Linked DNA regions of Homo sapiens: all the other regions are linked to region 6. Evidence: promoter capture Hi-C in human tissues and cell types (Jung and others, 2019). All regions are on one chromosome and are shown on one strand. The core of a region is centred on a gene start or on the middle of the fragment in contact, and the rest is flanking DNA. Distances in the headings are between cores, read along the strand shown. Region 1 has its middle 4.5 kb from the start of PARAL1. Region 2 overlaps MKKS (MKKS centrosomal shuttling protein). Region 3 overlaps PARAL1 (PPARG activating RBM14 associated lncRNA 1). Region 4 overlaps SNAP25-AS1 (SNAP25 antisense RNA 1). Region 5 overlaps ANKEF1 (ankyrin repeat and EF-hand domain containing 1). Region 6 holds the start of SNAP25 (synaptosome associated protein 25). Region 7 overlaps MKKS (MKKS centrosomal shuttling protein).

What was found. Contacts are between HindIII fragments. The study calls those that stand out against the background at their distance.
Region 1: a contact is called between a fragment that was not itself captured here and the fragment with the promoter of SNAP25 in region 6, in 4 of the 25 tissues and cell types used here (aorta, dorsolateral prefrontal cortex, hippocampus and 1 more).
Region 2: a contact is called between a fragment that was not itself captured here and the fragment with the promoter of SNAP25 in region 6, in 1 of the 25 tissues and cell types used here (dorsolateral prefrontal cortex).
Region 3: a fragment that was not itself captured here is called in contact with the fragment with the promoter of SNAP25 in region 6 in 1 of the 25 tissues and cell types used here (hippocampus).
Region 4: a contact is called between a fragment that was not itself captured here and the fragment with the promoter of SNAP25 in region 6, in 1 of the 25 tissues and cell types used here (dorsolateral prefrontal cortex).
Region 5: a contact is called between a fragment that was not itself captured here and the fragment with the promoter of SNAP25 in region 6, in 1 of the 25 tissues and cell types used here (dorsolateral prefrontal cortex).
Region 7: a contact is called between a fragment that was not itself captured here and the fragment with the promoter of SNAP25 in region 6, in 1 of the 25 tissues and cell types used here (hippocampus).

What each region holds. Positions count from the first base shown.
Region 1 is chr20:9,980,486-9,983,185 of GRCh38, reverse strand. No RefSeq gene overlaps it. Among named protein-coding and RNA genes, the nearest start is that of PARAL1, 4.5 kb to the left of the region's middle. The HindIII fragment of the contact is 5,770 bases long and covers 1-2,700 here.
Region 2 is chr20:10,405,438-10,408,137 of GRCh38, reverse strand. It overlaps MKKS (MKKS centrosomal shuttling protein), which reads left to right. Exons shown (of 6, transcript NM_170784.3): 5 at 412-522; 6 at 2,451-2,700. Among named protein-coding and RNA genes, the nearest start is that of MKKS, 27 kb to the left of the region's middle. The HindIII fragment of the contact is 5,196 bases long and covers 1-2,700 here.
Region 3 is chr20:9,997,685-10,000,384 of GRCh38, reverse strand. The region is part of intron 1 of PARAL1 (PPARG activating RBM14 associated lncRNA 1); the gene reads right to left. Among named protein-coding and RNA genes, the nearest start is that of PARAL1, 13 kb to the right of the region's middle. The HindIII fragment of the contact is 3,336 bases long and covers 1-2,700 here.
Region 4 is chr20:10,084,662-10,087,361 of GRCh38, reverse strand. The region is part of intron 3 of SNAP25-AS1 (SNAP25 antisense RNA 1); the gene reads left to right. Among named protein-coding and RNA genes, the nearest start is that of ANKEF1, 51 kb to the right of the region's middle. The HindIII fragment of the contact is 3,434 bases long and covers 1-2,700 here.
Region 5 is chr20:10,039,429-10,042,128 of GRCh38, reverse strand. All of the region lies in intron 3 of ANKEF1 (ankyrin repeat and EF-hand domain containing 1), which reads right to left. All of the region lies in intron 3 of SNAP25-AS1 (SNAP25 antisense RNA 1), which reads left to right. Among named protein-coding and RNA genes, the nearest start is that of ANKEF1, 5.8 kb to the right of the region's middle. The HindIII fragment of the contact is 3,991 bases long and covers 1-2,700 here.
Region 6 is chr20:10,217,536-10,220,235 of GRCh38, reverse strand. SNAP25 (synaptosome associated protein 25) reads right to left here and starts at 1,406. Exons shown (of 8, transcript NM_130811.4): 1 at 1,259-1,406. It overlaps SNAP25-AS1 (SNAP25 antisense RNA 1), which reads left to right and starts at 730. Exons shown (of 5, transcript NR_040710.1): 1 at 730-999. The HindIII fragment of the contact is 5,357 bases long and covers 1-2,700 here.
Region 7 is chr20:10,425,455-10,428,154 of GRCh38, reverse strand. The region is part of intron 1 of MKKS (MKKS centrosomal shuttling protein); the gene reads left to right. All of the region lies in intron 1 of LOC128706665, which reads left to right. The region is part of intron 1 of LOC128706666; the gene reads left to right. Among named protein-coding and RNA genes, the nearest start is that of MKKS, 7.4 kb to the left of the region's middle. The HindIII fragment of the contact is 7,518 bases long and covers 1-2,700 here.

The DNA of each region.
Region 1 (2,700 bases), core at 103-2,602, 240 kb after region 6:
TAATAGATTAAATTTCCTCAGCCTTTAAGGTACCTGATGGTAAATTTTAATTAAAAATAACTTCTTTTAAAGAATAGATTTTGAAAGGAAAGATAGAAAAGATTAAAAGATAGGAAAAGAGGAAAGGGGAATTGAGGCATTAAGAAACATCATGAAATTGAAGGCCAGGCCCGGTGTCAGGAGCCTGTAGTCCCACCACTTCGGGATGCCAAAGCTGGAGAATCACTTGATTCCAGGAGTTTGAGACCAGCCTGGGAAACATAGTGAGATCCTGGTCTCTATAAAAAATAAAAAAATAAGCCGGGCATGGTGGCTCATGCTTGTAGTCCCAGCTACTCCGGAGGCTGAGGTGGGAAGATCACTGGAGTCCTCACTGCACTCTATCCTGGGAGACAGAGGGAGGCTGTCATTGAAAAAAAAAAAAAAGAATTCAAAAAAAAGAAAGCAATACAGAACAGTTGGGCTCAGAGAAGATTATAGCAAACTTCACCTACTCTACAGATTTGGATCTCCAGGTGCCTGGCTAGTGAGAGACCATGAGGGCATGAATTGGGATTGTGGCTTTTCATGTCCTTCCACATAAAAGCAAGTGTGATTTCAATTGTAGATTGATTTGTGGCTCAAGACTAAAAGGATCACAGAAATTCTTTTTATCAAGTTCAAGAACTTTGGGTTCTTATCATAGAACAGATTTATGTAAAAGTTTTTAGATCTGAACTAAGTGTGGTAGAGAACAGTGCTTTAAGATATAAAGTAGTTTGCTGACATATATTTTATTGATGGATGAGTTTTTTCTGAATATAAATCAGATCTTATTTTTGACTGCCAAAAATCACGTTTAACTCTTCACCCTAAAGAGCTCCCAAAATATACTTCCAATTATTTAAGATGCATTTTAAACCAGTAGCAATGAAGACTTGAGTCAATTTTAAACTACTGCAGTTAACTCTTGCAGCTAAATCACCCATTTAATATCTCTTACTTTTCAGATCATCAAATCCCATAAGACTTACTATAAATCTTTTCACTTCCACCCCAAAATGACTTGGGCAGATACATTGTGAATTAAATGATGCTATAACTTGATTTATGTACATCTGGACTTTCAACCCAATGGCTTCCCAGAACTCAATCAATCTTTATGAAGTCCTGGTAACGTACTCCAAAAGAACTGCAATGCAGTGACTTATAAATGAAGCCTGGATTTTTGCCAATGTTACTAAATAAGGAGCTGTACGACCTGGCCCATGCTTTATAGCTGCTGAAGGAGGAGCAATTCCACTCTGGGCTCAGCAGCTCCCTGGGCTATGTTTCCTGCCCTCTCAAGTCAACTACCATGCCCTGAAATGACTTTTAATTTTTTTCACTGTGCCACTGCTGAGAAAAGTAGAAAAGAGTTTCAATGCTTAGACTCCTTGAATATTTCTTTTATAGAGTTAGTTGAAGCTTCTACAGCTTGCTTGTATTTTCACCCTATTAATTTATTCAGATAGGAGCCTCCTTATGCCTAATATAATGTAATTCAGTAAGTCTGATCATTGTATTATCATTCCCAATATTAGGGGACTCTCCATCCTTATAAAGGATTAAACTTTCCTTCCCCATTGACATCAGGCTTGCTTTGGCCAATGAAATGTGGTCAGAAATGTCAGAAGCCAGTTCTGAGCAAAAGCTCTAAGAACCACTCTGTGGTTTCACATCATTTTCTTCTCACAGCCAGGGGCCTGGTAGGTCCCAGGTAGGGGCTGCTCATTCAGCCCGCATGGGCTTGAGATAAAGAGCCTAAGTCAATCTGTGATTGACATGTAAAATGAGAAAGAAAGAAAACTGTTTCTTGTTGTAAGCTACTAAGATTTGGAGGTAGGGGGTGTCTGGTTACTGTAGCATAACACAGCACAAGCTGACTGATACAATAAGCATCCTATATAGAAACTGTAAGAACTGCTTGAACAGGAGTAAACCAAGAAAGCTCAGCAAAGCTTTAGCTAAAGAGAGCAATATCTTATTTTCTTAAGATTTGAGACTTCTACACTTCTGTCCTATCATGCTTACGTATCCTTGGGAAAATATTGGAGACTGGGCAAGCTGCTTTCAGGAATGCTATATTGCCTATACTTGCAATCATCTAGTAATTTCCTTTTTCTTGCCAAAGTGAAGATAGGTCTGGAATCTTAAAGTCTGAAGACCACTCTCTTTCCCCTTCTTCCTTGAGGTCAGCATTAAACTGGCCACTATAGACTTCTCAGATGAGAACTTGTATCTGGGAAGAGTCTTGCAAGAGCAGGCTGACTCTATTCTGAAGCCTACAGAGATGGGTGGGCATGAAATTCCAGATAGCACTGTGGTCAAGTGCAGAGAAATATCTGTGGTATACCAGCCTACCACAGTCTCTGTGTAGACCAGTCTAGATGGCACTTATATTCAAGGGGAATGTAATTTTTGGCAAGTCAGGAATTATCCGAAGAAAAATGGAATGTAACTCAAGGAAGACCATCAGGCCACAAATCATTAATACCTTGGTTTTAAATTCAGTTGCATCTTTAATAGCTTGTTATATAAACTTTAATGTCTATTTTTACCTCTAAAAATGATGATGCAATGATTGTGTGAGTTTTTCAGACTATCTGAGTTTTAATTCCAGCTAGCTTACTTGTTGTATATCCTTGGGAAGCAACTTAACTTTTTTCTATTTCAGTCTCT
Region 2 (2,700 bases), core at 197-2,696, 190 kb before region 6:
ATTTTTTATTTATTATTGCTGGGATGTAACTGTATTATTTCCAAATCCATTCAAAATAAATTTATTATTTAGACTGAAATGATTTTTTTAGTGGAAGTGTCAGCAAACCTTGTTGACCCAGATATTTTGAGGCCATATATTCGTCTCAGTTTGAAGAGCTAAGTGTATATGAAAGAAAATACTAATCTGGCTCCGTGAAAACAAACTTCTGACTGAAGTATCTTCCCTTAATCTCTAAACCTTACTATTCAGAATGTATTAATCACATGACAACCTTGGCACCACACAAGTTTTGTTCTTTTGTAATTAAAATCACACTCTCTGTATTCACTATGATGCTTTGAGAGCATGATTTTTTGTGTGTTAATATGATGTGAACGTCTGATTCTGATGATTTGGGTTTTTTCTTAGCTCACGTGTCAGACGGCACTGCATGTCCTGCAGTTAACACTCAAGGAACCATGGGCTTTGTTGGGAGGTGGCTGTACTGAAACTCATTTGGCTGCATATATCAGACACAAGGTATGTAAGATAATCCTCTTCGGATTACCTGAATTCTCAGCAACTTTTGTTTTCTGAGATAATAAGCCAAAATCATAATATCCTATAGTCTTTTTGTTAGTTTTAACTTTTAGGTTCAGGGGTGCATGTATAGGTTTGTTATACAGGTAAACTTGTAGCCTTTAACACTGAATTTTTCAGTAGTCTAAATAAAGTAGATAATCAAAAACACTTGAGGGAAATAACAAGGTAAATATAAGGTAATATCCTTATTACAATGATTATTATAAAAATATTTAAGCAAGCGATCACGTTCTTTGAGTATTGTCTACATGTTCTGCATGTTGAAGCTAGCATTCTGTTATTGGGAGTTCTCTTAGAGATCTCAACTGCTGCAATACAGTAATAATTGATGTTCACAAACAAAAGGGCCAAGTTTCTACAGAATACTTCAGTATCTTCTAGAGCATCAAGAAAAGTTTCATTTATTTAAGCAATTCACATATTAGATTCTATTATAATTTTAAAATTGGTATTTATGTATGTTATTTATTAATTATACTAAATAGAATTTTTTGATTGGTCTAGGAAACTCCATTTCCTGACAGCTCTCAGATAAGTTTAGTGCATTGTTGTTCTGATTATTTCATAAGTACTGGCCTACTTTATTTGAAAATGGATAGAAAAAGGTATAGGTGTTTTCCAGATATTAGCAATCGATTCATTGGGTAAACATGCCCTGTCCTTCCCCAAATAACTTAGAATCTCTTTGAAGATAAAGCACATTCATGAAAAGTTATCAGAATATACATTATGGAAAACAAAATTTGTGCCAATCTATTGGTGCTGAATGGACAATAATGTATTCTGAAATGGAATTGATAAACTAGAGAAAGTTTTTTAGAGGAAGGAGGTGTCTTGAGTAGGAAAGTAGTCACTGTTTTTAAGCAGTTAAGATATGGATTTTTTAACCCATCATTCAGTTATTAGTTTGCTAATACAGACATGTTGCTTAACAAAGATATATTCTGAGAAATGCATCATTAGACAATATTGTTGTGCAAACAATATAGAGTGTACTTGCACAAACCTACATGGTAGAGCCTACCACACTCCTAAGCTATGTGGTATAGCCTATTGCTCCTAGGCTACAAACCCTTACAGCATATTACTGTACTGAATACTGTAGGTAATTGTAACACAATGGTATTTATGTATCTAAACATATCAACACACAGAAAAGGTTAGTAAAAATATGGCCTTATAATCTTATGGGACCACTGTTGTATATGCAGTCTATCATTGACTGAAGTGTTGGTATGTGGTGCATGGCTATATATTAATTTTTCTTTTTATCATGGAATTTCTAGGATAAACATTTTTAAATAGTGGAACCAGAAGACTGTTTAAGGTCTTATTACCTTTTCATTAATTTAAAGAGAAGAATATTCATTTTTAAAACATTGATATGAAAATTTACATCATGATTTCCAAATAAAAATATGTGCATTCCCATTTTAAGCAAATCTCAAACATTTTGCAGAGATAAATAAGTACTCCATTTGGGACATCAGTCTTCAGGAACTTCCTCCTGTGTGCAGAAAAACCTGTAATACATGTATTATGCCTAGTCCTTCATGTATTAAGGAGGCACTACCAAGCCTCATTCAGAATAAGCTGATGGTGGGGTTATTCTGATTCACTCATTCTGGTAACATGACTGGTAGTATATACATTTTTAATACATTTTTACTATAACCAACCTAGTTAAGGGTTTGCAACCCGGCCGGCTGACCCATACAAGCCCGTTAGCATTGTGCCAGACCCCAAATTAAATGAAAGTAAGTAATTACTTTAGGAATAAGATTTTGATTTCAGTATCTTATTTTTCTGAAACATTTTATATTAATTGCTTTGTATGTGTTTTCAATGTTTTTATTACTCTTTAGACTCACAACGACCCAGAAAGCATTCTCAAAGATGATGAATGTACTCAAACAGAACTTCAATTAATTGCTGAAGCATTTTGCAGTGCCCTAGAATCTGTTGTTGGCTCTTTAGAACATGATGGAGGTGAAATTCTCACTGACATGAAGTATGGACACCTTTGGTCAGTTCAGGCAGATTCTCCCTGTGTTGCTAACTGGCCAGATTTGCTTTCACAGTGTGGCTGTGGATTATACAATAGCCAGGAAGAAC
Region 3 (2,700 bases), core at 186-2,685, 220 kb after region 6:
TGTAAGTTTGATTAAATCTAGCATGAAAATAGCAGTTTCTGTGGGGGGAAAAATAAAAATTTTTTAGAAAGCACTGAGATATTCTAAAAAACACTGCACCCTCAGCATGAGTTGGCACAACTCAAAAGCAGTAGCTAAGAATCATAAGTAGATATTACTGCTTATAAGCTTATGGGCCAGCTGGATGTTCCTGTGATCTCACCTGGACTCCCTCATGCATATGTGGTTCACTGTGGGTCAGGTATGCAGCTCTGCTAAACTCGGGGGTCTCTCTCCATGTTTGGGAGACGGGTGGCTGTAGCTGGTCCAGGCTGGGCTCCCCAGGGATGGTTGTGATCTGCTCTTCATGTGCTCCCATCCTCTAGCTATCTTCTGGAACTTGTTCCCAAGATGCTGGCAGGACTCCAACAGAAAGGGAGCAGAAGTGCCAGGTCCCTTGAGACCCAGGCTCAAATCTCTATTGGCCTTGCCAAGTCCAAAGGCCAGCCCAGATTCAAAAGGTGGAGAAACAGATGCCACCATCCTCTGCAGGGAGGAGTTAGTTGCACAGTCACATTGTCAAGACCACAGATGATTGAGGAACTGAAACCCTTTGGCAGCGGGCTCTCCATATGCTACTACTTGGAATTAGAATCCTTTTGTCTTCATGCTACCCTCTCCTTGACTCATGCAGCCCAGGCCTTCTCAGGGCCTGGAGCATTTTTCATTAACAGGAAGACTATTTCATCATGTAAAAAAGATGGAATGAAGTCTGCTGTGTGGCAATTCATTTGGGGGCTCTTATTAATGTGTTGTTCTGTGACCTATGTCAATATGTTCACTTTGAAGTTTCAAGATGATCTCCACCCTAGGATAACTGAAAATGTTTACATACCAATTTATGAACTTTGCAAAAGACTATACTTTTCAAACTAAAGACAAAATTGTTGGAGAAAATTTATATTTATTCACATTTGTATTTTATATTAGTGTTTATAAAACACTAATACGTTTAAGAAAGATGGATTTTATATATAGCTGCTCATTGATTTTATTATAGTCATGTTCATTTTCAGGGATGGTATTTCTCATTGAATGATTAATTTATATCTCTGAGATCTGTGATATATAAACACAGTTCCATGATTCCACAGCATTTATGTTTGTATTATTTTTCTCGATCATACTGTAAGTACTCTCCAGTTAAATGAATCTAGCTGTAAAGAATATAACACCTAGAACTAAAAAGTCTTTCCAAATACATTGCCTAAATTTGGCAGGCTTACTTCAGAAACATAGTCTTGTTTTTTTTTTTTTTTTTTTTTTGTTGTTGTTGTTTTGAGACAGAGTCTCGCTCTGTCACCCAGGCTGGAGCGCAGTGGTGTGTGATCTCAGCTCACTGCAACCACCACCTCCTGGGTTCAAGTGATCTTCCTGCCTCAGCCTCCCGAGTAGCTGGGACTACAGGCACGTGCCACCACACCCAGCTAATTTTTGTATTTCTAGTAGAGACGGGATTTCATCATGTGGGCCAGGGTGGTCTTGAACTCCTGACCTCAAATGATCTGCCTGCCTCAGCCTCCCAAAGTGCTGGGATTACCGGCATGAGCCATTGCGCCCAGCCTAAATCTTGTTATAAAATAAATCTGTGATTGGCTCTTTTGAACTTGTCAAAACTACCAATGACATGAAATCATGGGTTTTCACAGAGATGTTATTAAATAAAATTGCTAAAGATCAAAATCCAAGATGAAAAATAAATCCAGGATATATGTCTCAATCATTTATTTCTTTTCTTTTCAGCAAACCATTCACACATAAAATGAAATGGAGAATTTTAGCAATCCTAAGTATTTTAACAGGGCTACTTTATTGAATTTTAGTAAGTCTTGAGATATTTATTGAGATAATTATCACGTATAATAAAAATGAGGAAAAAATTACTTGATTCAATGAGATATTTCTTTTTTTTAATTCATTCTTTTTTAATGATTATTATTATTATACTTTAAGTTTTAGGGTACATGTGCACAATGTGCAGGTTAGTTACATATGTATACATGTGCCATGCTGGTGTGCTGCACCCATTAACTTGTCATTTAGCATTAGGTATATCCCCTAATGCTATCTCTCCCCCCTCCCCTGAGATATTTCTTTTGTGGTCAATATCTATTAGGTGGTGGTATGCAATGGAAATTTTGAAACAATTATTGTGTCCCGAATGATTCATTAAATGATTAGCTAATTGATCATATTTATTATAATCTATTTCAGTCGATGGTCTCTAAGGACAAGAATTAATGTAGGAATGCCATTAGCCGTTTATAAATGAAAATTTTTGCTTTATTCTTAATGACAACTGACTACTAGCTAAAGACAAAGTAAATTAAATAAGTAAACAGTAGAAAAAAACTAGAATATATAGGGACTGTAGTCTAGACAAATTACAGTTATGTAATTTCAAAAGTGCATAACAATGTTTTAGTCAACAACCACATATATGATGGTGGTCCCATAAGATCAAAATGAAGCTTAAAAATTCCTATCGTCTAGTGAAATCGTAACCATCACATCATCACAGCACAATGCATTACTTGTGTTGTTTGTGGTGATGCTGGTGTAAACAAAGCTACTGTGCTGTCGGTCATATGGAAGCATAGCACATACAATTGTGTGCAGTACATAATAATGTATAATAATAATAAATATGTTACTGATTTA
Region 4 (2,700 bases), core at 195-2,694, 130 kb after region 6:
CATTTTCTTCCAATATTGGTTCAGTACATGTTTTTTACAGTGTGGAAATCCTACCAGATATACAATTTTAGATCTTGCCTTTTAAAAAAACCACTTAACTTTAAATTATAAATGCCTTTTCTTTTTATTGAAACTATGCATCATAATTTTAAACAGATTCAGAATATTCTGCTATATGGATGTACTCTATTATTCCCTCAATACGGGACAGGAAGGTTGATAAATATAAGTTTTGGCCCTTATGATTTTGAAGGCATTCTATATCTAAAGACAATTAAGATAAATGGTAGAGGTATTATATTATAGACTTCCCCAGCAGTTTCAACAGAATGCCTACTTTTGTTCATTGAGACCTGGCTACACAGTTGGCAGTCCTCCCCAAGTGAGTGCTCCTCATTCCTTGCTTTCTCATCCCCCAGCCCCTACTCTGCTACCCTTTACTTTTCCCCATATAGCAGACACGATTGATGCCCTATTTACATATCATCAATACTCAGTATTCCTGCACATGCCAATGGTTTCTTACTGCAAGCACCTTGGATTCTCTGCTTAAGGACTTTCTTTGGCTGCAGGAGCATGATCAGTTATGCGTGGGGCAGTCTAGGAGTGCCCAATGGGCCCAAGTGCAAATGGGAGTTAGTAGATAAATATCCCAGCTCCTCATCACACATGGGGAACAATTTGGAGCTGTGTTCTACATAGAGCTTTCCGTGGGGACTGATTTCCAATTACCCACTCATTAATGCACCTGTGTTAGCTTCCTTTCCTTCACTGTCTCATTTCCACATTTTCCTACAATGGTTCCTGGGGTCACCTCACAAATAAACCATCTGGACTCAAACCCTTGTTTCAGTGTCTGCTTCTGGGGGACCAGTGTAAGACTCCCCTCCTTCTTAATTATGAGTTCTAGCACTCTCCAGCTTAGACTTTCCCTCTTTTTTTTTTTTTTTTTTTTTTTTTACTAAAGTGGAAGCTAAAAAGTCTAAATGATTCAACATATATTTTAAGGAACAGTGTAAATATGCAAAACGGTGCCAGATTGCTAACTCTCTTTTCATCAGAACTACTGATAGGAATGCTCCCAAGAGGGAATAAATTATACAGAGACTCTGGTCTCTTTGGAGGTGACTTTGAACTGTTCTTTGTTTCTCCTCTCTGTTGTCCTCTCTCATTTCTCTCCTAATCTATTTCCTCTGCAATAGAAGAGAAATAGCTGACTGTTTTTGCTACCAACTCCTAATTAAGTTTCCAGATACACCCATAAGCAGAGGTGTGATGATAGGCTTGTTATAAAGCAAGTTTATATTCATTTTATGTAATTAATTGTTATTACTGGTTACTAAAGACTTGATGTATGCTGCGTATTTACTAGGTTCTGCAGGAGATTCTGCAGAGATTAAGATGTTATCTTTGTAGGGAAGATAAGACACATTACACAGCTGGACTCATGCAGGGACAAGTGTGATGTGTCAATTGAGGGGCACACATAGATCAAAACCAATAAACAACTCTAGATATTCAGAGAAAGCTGTGGTTCACTCTGGCTGGATTTTGAGAAAGCTTCATGGAAGAGGCTAGGAATGGATGGGTTGGGTTTTAATAGGTAAACAGGACAAGACACAGAGAAGAGAGGTGTTCCAAGTCTTCCCCATCTCAATTCCTAGGGGACTTCGATTTGCTGTTAAAGGTTGAGACTGCTGCTTCCCTGCTCTCCCCTCCTTCTGACCTCAGTAGGCCATAAAACTTTCAGTTTCTTTCTATTTTAGTTTCTCTAATACCCAATGGGGGAAACTATGCCATCTTTCTGATGCAAACAGACTAAGCCAGTTCCAAGCCAAACTGTAAATTAGGCATATCAGTTAGAAATTCATTTAATTTTAGATATCACATTAGATATCACCCATCTAATAGGGGCTTAAACAAAATGGACACTAATTTTAGCTCTAAGAAAAAGAAGACTGAGGCATTTGTTACTGGGGTTTAGCTAACTCAGCAACATCATCAAAGACTCATGCCTTTTCCATCTTCCTACTCTGCCCTCCTTAAGCTGTTGATTTTTCAACCTCACACTGCTCCCCTCCTGGCTGCACCTTGGCTGCATTAGTTTCAGGAATCATGACTGCCTTCAAGGCAGGAAGAAGGGAGAAGAGCAGTAACAAAAGTCTGCTTTTTTCATGACGGCAAAAGTATTTCCAGGAGTCCCCTGCAAAAAAAAAAAAAAAAAAAAAAACATGTATCACTGGCTACAAATGCATCATATGGCCACCCTAGCTGTAAAAAATTCTGGAACTTGAGTATTTCACTCCTTAGATTCTATAATTATACAAAGCAAGGAAAAAGGGCCAGGGAATGGCTACAATGAAGGCTACAAATTCTGCCTTGTCTTACAGGAAACTTTACTTGCTATGGTTAAGACACTCAGAGCGTCTCTCTGTCTTAGCTGAATAACCAGTGTATTAGTCAACTGTTACCTCAGCCATACTGCGCAACAAACCACCCCAAATCTCAGTGGCGTTTAATGATAAGCATTGATGATCACACTCACAGAGTTGCTGATTGGCCAGGGTGCCTCTGTTCCATATGTCTCACATTCTTCTAGAATAGAAGAATGGTGTGGCAGAAACCAAGAGGAGTGAGCAGAAAGGGATAGCACTTCTTTGGGTGTAGGGTCAGAACAGTACATCCTCACTCTTTCCCATA
Region 5 (2,700 bases), core at 9-2,508, 180 kb after region 6:
AAGAACAGTCAACAAGGCATGCCTAGGTAAAGCTAGGCAAAGAAAGTGTCTCATAAGAATCCAGGCAAAAATTCAACTAATCCATGAAGGGGAAAAGTCCAGCTGCCCTCAAAAATTTATCACAACAACATTCAATGCTACAGTATAATCAAAGGATCTCTACACTATAACTTGGGGAAAAAAAACAGGAAACTTTTATACCCAATCAAGACTTTGTTCATGTAAAAACAACAGACATGTATAGTCTTAAGGATATAAGTAATCAGGGATACAAGCCCAAAGAAGTGACTTAAACTACTTGATGGCAAAAGTGAGTTTTCCAAGAGATCAATAGAGAATATGTGACTAAAAGAACAGTCATAAATACTGAATCTCTTTAGCCACAGAACCAAAGCTAAGTCACCTTAGCAATTTTAGATAGAGAAAAATATATTGCAATTTGTAATAATGTAAAAATAATATAATTTATCAAAAATTTGAGGGAAGGAAGGAGAAATAGTATAAGTATTTGATCTTCTCATCTTTTAGGGCTAAGACTGAGATATTATGTAAAGCAGGTAAGGAAATAAAGTACAAGGTACTTATTATTTAAAAGGGAATCATTGAAAGAACTAAGTAATTATAATTGAGTATAAAATTGAGTGGTAGAAGGGAAGTAGCAGAGGTAAGAGGAAGGGTTATTGTACTAATCTTATCTAATTTATACTATTGTACTAATCTTACTAAACAGAGTAAAGAATCAATGAATACTGTTTAAGATGCTAACTCAATAAACAGGTTTAAGGGCATATGAAGTATCAAGTTAACCATTAAAATAACTAAAAAAAAATAAAAAAACTAAAATAACTAAAAAGCCCATCAATTTTAGAAAATACACTTACAAGCATATAAAGAAAAACACACATATACAGCAAAGTAAAACAAATCTATGGACCATATATGACAATACTTTCACATGTATTTTATATATTAGATATATTTTGCCTTCACAATATAAAATAAATGATGTTTCTGAAACCAACCCTATGGGAAATCTAGATAACTATAAATTGGATAAATTCCACCATTAAAATAAAAAATAAAATGTATATGAAAATCAAAACCTAAATATATTTTATATAAACTGATGTACCTAAAGTAGGGTTACTCAGAACAGTTAAAAAAAAAAAGAAAAGATTGTCAAGGTTATTATTGAAAAGAGAAAGTCAAAGAAAGAGCAAGACATAGAAGGCAGGAACAGAGCAAAACAACAACAGCAACAGCAAAACAACCTAAGCATAATACCCGAGGAGGCTGAATTCATTACAAAAGGCCCAGAGCCACTTATGAAATGAATATTTCATAATGATGGCATGTGCAACACACAGTTAAAGTGTATCTGGGCTGACTCCTTAAGCCACAAAGAACACGAATCAGCATTCCTAAATTGAAGGGAAAACAGTTTGAAAAATATTGTACCTTATCATAGAACTGGCATACGGCATTGAGGACTGAGTACACATGCCTGTAAATGCAAAAACCAATGGAATGGGAATGGGTGCTATAAGGAACTATTATAGCTTAACTTTTAAGGAGAATGATTCCACATTGTAATTAATTCCCTAGGACAACATACAAGAAAGAATGTATTGGCTTAGAGCTTTACCTTCTCCATATTCTGTAAAACTGTTCCAAGAGAAAGTGCCGCTTAGGCCTAGGGCATGTCTCACATCCTAAAGACCCACTTAGCCATTTAAATGTTTGCTTATCCTTTAGGAACGATGTACAGTGAGTCAAACATGAGTCACCAGAAAATAGGATGTCAATGACAGAGAGGGTACTGTGGAATAAGCAAAGCACTTTGGCCACTGGCAGCCAAACTGAGGGATGTGCAAGCTGAGTGAGCCTTGTTGATGTGGGAAGAGACAATGTACTCTGTACAATGGGCACTACCTTGGGTTATGCAGAGTGAGGGCTGCAGGCAGCCATCCTAACAAGCTTATGTGTGAAACAAGATTTTACATTTGTTTCCTTTTATAGTTTCAGTTCTGCCCATGAGATTTGTTTCCTTTAGCCATATGCCTGTTGCATTTGCTGCAAGTATTTACTTGACCTTGTTTCCAATTTTACCTTGATTTTTTAAAAAAAATTTACACTTTTACATTGTTACACTATAGAATTTCTTTTTTCTTTGTGATTTGTATCTGTTTCAAACTCAGTAAGTTAAACGTTTCTCTATTATAGTGTTTCCCAAAGGTTAGTCCACAAAACTCCAGGCATATAAGATGTCATTAAAAAAAATTATTTTGTGGTCAAATAAATATGGAAAATGTCACCATTTTTGAGCCAACAATGTGAAAGATAAATGCCTAAAATGTGTCTCTAATGAATGCGACCGTGGAACCAATTTTGCCTGTAGTACTTCTCAACATCCTGGCAATTCAGTGGTCCATGGAACACACTTTGGGAAATGGTATACTATAGAGCTTTGAGAGGATACCGTTTTTTCAGGATTTAGCATTTCAAAGTACATCTGGCCCCTGAATGCATCTGAAGTTTATTTTCTTACGTGGTACAATTAAATATGTAATTATCCCTTTTCTTTGTCCTCTTTTGTTCTAAGCAAGTAATCATATCAAACACCAAGTCTGGAGAGAGTTAGAAAAGTAGATTTTGCTCTTGTCAGTAAATATTCACATTATCAAATGAGATTCATTTCTC
Region 6 (2,700 bases), core at 157-2,656:
GAAGAAGGAAAAGGAAGAGTGATTCATTCTTAAAGTTGATTCTGCTTAGTTCAGCTAATCTCACATTTTTATCAAATGGAAACATAGAGAGAGATGTATCATCCCTATAAACAGATAGCATTGGCTTCTTCATATATACAGTACTTATGCTCACCCAAGATCTGTAGACAGATCTACTCTGTGTTAAAAAACAAAACCAAACAAAAACCTTGATACCCTGCTGGAGGATAAATCCATATTTTTTAAAAAATGTATTTATTTTCTACGTAAAATAAGGGTCAGAGGGCAACACAGAAGATTTCCACAAGTAGACTATTTTGTTGAAGCTATGCAGGAGGTGAGGAGGGGAACAGGAAATTGTCTGCAAAGGAGTCTCTGTGAGGAAGATTTATTTCTTTCTTGTTTTCTTTTAAGCTACTATGACTCCTCTATTAAGGGTCTCCGTAAGACCGGGGTCTCAGGGAGACAATTTGGTCTCCAGCCCTGGCACATCCAGCCCCGGCCAGGCATTTCTGCCGCAGGCAGATGAGGCGCTGCGGCCGGACCGCTGTCCCCGGTGCTGAAAGGTCGAGGGCGCCCGCGCGAGCCCTCGGTGTTGCTATCCAGGGTGCTGAGCGCGGGCCGCCGCAGTCCCCGAAGCCAGCCCACCCGCGCCAGCCCTCCGCAGAGCCCTCCCACCCGGCACGACCCGCCCGCCTCCCGCCAGCCTGCAGTTGACGTGGAGCAGGCGGCATAAATCAAGTCCGCGGGGCATGGAGGCTGCTGTCGCTGCAGCAGCTCAGCTTGCCCGGGGCGGGAACTCCCCCTTTCTCCTTTCGCCTCCCCAGCACCCACACCCTGTCTCCCCCTTAATTCTTCCCTGGATAATAGCACCCTAACGACAACAGTCATAATAATAGGGTTAGAACGACAGGGGAGGAAAACTCAACAGCCTAAATATCTCTGAAAACTGCATCGCAAAATGGAAGAAAGAGGGGGTCCCACTACTGTTTCAAAAGAGTAAGTTATTATTCGGTACGTACCCTCGCTCTTCCTCCCCGTCGCTCCATTTGCAGGGCTCCCGTTTCCCTTTTCCCCAGCAGCTCACCTCGAAAACACTTTATAAAGCCCCCACCAGACGTGCACACACGGAATACCGCACCCTAAGTGCACCAATACTTGTATTTACCCAAGCCCACTCGGACTGCCCAGCTGCTGTCCCTTCTGGGTATGCAGCCATCCCGAGCCAGAGCCACGACCTGGGGAGGGGGGTTCTTACCTGGGCTTCTCGGGAGGGTTGTGTTCTCCGGGCCTCTGCAGGTTGCAACTGTGGTGGAGCCGCCGAGCAGGGAGGGAAGGAAAGACAGCGCCTGACCTCCCCGAGGTTTCGTCTTCAATGCAACGTGAGCTCTGCCCTCATCAAAGATGGCCGTCCGTTTTGACGTCAGCAGCTTTTAATAGCCGCCCAGCGAGGGGCGGGAGGAAGTGGGGGCGGGGCACGGCGGGGGCGGGGGCGGGGCCCGGGCTGCGGCGCGCTTGACTCGGTTCCCAGTGCGCTGGCCTGCAAACCTGCGTGTTTTCACCTTCTATAAACACCCGCACGGGGCGACTCTTATGACTCCATTTTAACACTCGGTCTTGGGCAAACGCGTTCATCCCGCAACTGCATTCCTGATGTTCTTTGGTGTGTGTGCGTGTGTGTGTACATATGTGTATATGTGTGTGTATGTATATATGTATGTGTGTGTATATTTTATAATACATGTATAATATATGTATAATTTGTGTGTATGTGTATATATTCCCCCCCACCCCCACCCCCACCCCCTTTCAGTGGAATCTGTGGTTGAGTCATCTAAGGAGAGGGGAAGGCAGAGGAGGGGTAAAAGGTAGTGATGGGAGGGGTGGGGGAAATTTCAGCGGCGATTTGTTTTCTCCGAAGAGGGTCCGTAGGGGCATCCCCGTCCACCCTCGCCAGCTCCATATATGGCCAGGCTACGTGGGTTGCTATTTTTATGAGTGATTGCTTCATGTTATCGAAGCAGCGTCGAGGGCTTGTGGCTCTCGTTGCTGTGGTCAGCCGGGCAGCGAGGCTGGCGCACGTTATTTTGAACTACGTCAGAGCCAGGCTCTCTGAGCTGTTGCAGGAGTCGGGGGAAGGAGAAGGGAAGCGGAGTTAGCCCAGCCAGCGTGGGTTTGCAAGGACTCGAGGCTTGAAGTTGAGTTGTTTGCCGAGGGCAAAAACGGATGACTCTGCTTTCGGTGGAATTTGCAGTCGGTGCTGGGGTTTCATGCTGGGTGTCTTAGGGGTACCCCACGGAGGCACAGACGCCCCGAGGGAACCGTCCAAACGGCCGGGAGGAGGTGGGGGATTCAGAGCAAGGACGGCTGGGACACGGCCGAATCTGGGGGTTCACTCAGTGCGCAAACCCCGGGGTACCCGTGCAGGCTGCCTCGGGGGGCCCTCGGATGCTCAAATCAGGGCGGGGAGACAAAGGCTACTTGTGCTGGTCGTATTAGAGATTAAAAGTGATAATTATAAAGCAACAACCCTAACTGTCCTCCCTGGCCGTGCCCGGGCCCGGGAAGGGGGTGGTGCGCGGATCGCTCGGCGGTGGCAGCCTCCCGGATGATTCACAGGTGTTGGGGAGGCTGTCGCGGGGCTCTCCGCAGGGAGGGAGGGCTGGGGAGCGCGTGGGAGGTGGGGGACCTCGTCTGAGG
Region 7 (2,700 bases), core at 110-2,609, 210 kb before region 6:
AGCTAGTTTTCACTTCTCATTAGTTGTTAATCACTTGCTTAATATTTGAGACTGCCTACAATTAGTGAAACCCCCATATAAGACTTATGATGCTTTCAGTATATTTTTTATTTACAAATACATTAAATTCACAGCAATGAGCAGGGAGGAATAGCAAAAGACATAAGATACTTACGCATACCTGTTTCGGCCTTCTGACTGCAGATCCACTCCTGACTCAGTTACGCTGTTAGCAGCCCAGCTCTTGGATATAGGTCAAGCTGACCTTGAATGGTTTGGTGGGGAAGGTGGTAGGATTTGCAGAATGGAAACTTTAGAACTCAATTATGATCCATGGGTTCATTAAGAATTACAGTATTGTTTTTGGGGTGTGTGTTTTTACAAGACTGGAGAAGTCCAGCAAAATGAGTGTTATTTTAGGTGATATAGTTGGAAAAGAAAAAGGAAAACGATTGTTCTGTTTACCATGTCAGTTCATTTCATAGCACAGTTGAAGACCACGTGCAGTCTTTTCTATTGTGTACACAGAAAAAATGCCACAATTCAAACTGCTGTATTAAAAATTGAGGATAAAAAATAACTTTTGAATGTTGATGATGAGAATTCAGAAATGAAGAATTCACAAATACCTAAAGCCAACATTGTCATTGTAAAAGAAAAGGCATAGTACAATTCCAGTAAACTTCATAAAGTTTCATTATCACAAGAGCTGGGTTAATTGGTTTTTAATATTCTATCTAATGTTCTTCTCATGATTAAATTACATTCAGTGGAAGTTTTTAAAAATTACAATTTTTTCAAATCACAACAGCAATTAAGACCAAAAAGAATCCGTTTTACACTGTGTCCAAAAGGCCAGCAGATGGCGCCCAGCAAGCCCAATAGGCAAAATGAGAACATTTGATGTAACATTCCCTGCATCCAAGTTATTTTAGGCCTAATTTTGCAGGAAGCAATTAAAAAAACTTGATGGCTTTAACTAATACTATGCTAGATAGAATAATCTGATGGCTAGATCCAGCTGTTTGGGAAGTTCTAGGAAGCTTGCTTGCCTTTTTGCCCTTAACCTTACTTTGTGTGTGTGTGTGTGTGTGTGTGTGTGTGTGTGTGTGTGTGTGTGTGTGTCAGTGTTTTCTTTTCTTGGCCTTTAAGCTACTCTAAAAGATTACAGTATTTATAATGAGGTAGAAGCATAGCAAGTTCTCCCTCTTCTGTTCATTAATCTCTTGCTGTCATTCTATACTGAGAACTAAATTAAAGAAAACTGAACTAACCCAGCTAATCTCAACCATTAGTAGGTCACGGATGTGTTTTTGGAGGATATAGACTCTTTTGCCCTCTAATTTTTTTGTTTTTCTTACCTCCAGAACTGTAAGATGCCCTCTAATTTTGGACAAGTGAAATGACAGCTGTTAACCTTTTATATACCTGACATGAAAATCAGCCAAGGACATGCCACGGGGCGTGCATGGCTCATGCCTGTAATCCCAGCACTTTGGGAGGCTGAGGCGGACATATCACTTGAGGCCAGGAGTTGAGACCAGCCTGGGCAACATGGTGAAACCCCGTCTCTACTAAAATACAAAAATTAGTCGGGCATGGTGGCGTGGGCCTGTAATCTCAGCTACCTGGGAGGCTGAGGTACGAGAATCCCTTAAATCTGGCATGCGGAGGTGAGCCGAGATCACACCACTACGCTCCCCCTTGGGCAACAGAGTGAGACTGTCCCAAAAAAAGAAAAAAGAACAACATGCCAGGCATGATGCCCCAAGCTAGTTGACCTCAGTGATCCTCAAGGGTGTGCCTCACGCCCTCCAAATGTTCCCCTCATCCGTGATCACACACTGGAAATCCTGATAGACAGTACTGCCCAAGCTGGGGCACTAATTCTTGACTTGAAGAATTGCTTAGTAGAGTACTAGGCAAGACTTTAAAGACTTCACATCTAAATTGAATGCCACAGTTAACTGACAGTAATCTTAGAATCAATCATTTAATGTTTCTTCATTTATAAAATGATCTCATAAAGTTGCTATGAAAGCAAAACAAAATGAAAAATATGAAACTTTTGAATAATTTAAGACCATACTTTTGAGAGAAGAATATGAAAAGCATAATCCACATTAAGATTGCCTCTAAACTTTTTCTAAACTTAACAAAAGACATTTTAGTAAATGAAACTATAAATATCAACTCTATTTTACTTGATCTAAAATTTACTAATCTCATTTCATGTCTCTTGATTTCTCTATCCTTCTAAAGGAGTCTTTTTTTAGAAATATGTTTAAAGAAGATTCAGGAAAGAAAGAAAGGGCAGTGGCAAGTACATTAGAGGGTAAGGAAGGGAAAAAATCTCATTTCTCTTGTTGCTTTGCTCCAAACTTGAAAAGTTCAATAAATGAGCATCAAACACTAACTTATTTTAGGGATTAACCAGTTACTGCTCATCAAATCTGATCATTTTGAGCTTATTCTTGAGAAATCTTTGTTTTAGACTCAGAATCTCTACAAGACAGTCCATGCCTCTTGGAACAACTTGCCAAGTGTTTTGAGGGAAGGACCATCTCAAGGCAAACTGTAAATAGCTTAAGTTTGTTTCACAAATTGGATCTCCCAGTCTGTCTGCTTCTCAGTATCATGAACCTTTCTAAAAGTCAAGGTTTTAAAAACTTTCTTGTCAAGTTCATTTGAAAAATGAGT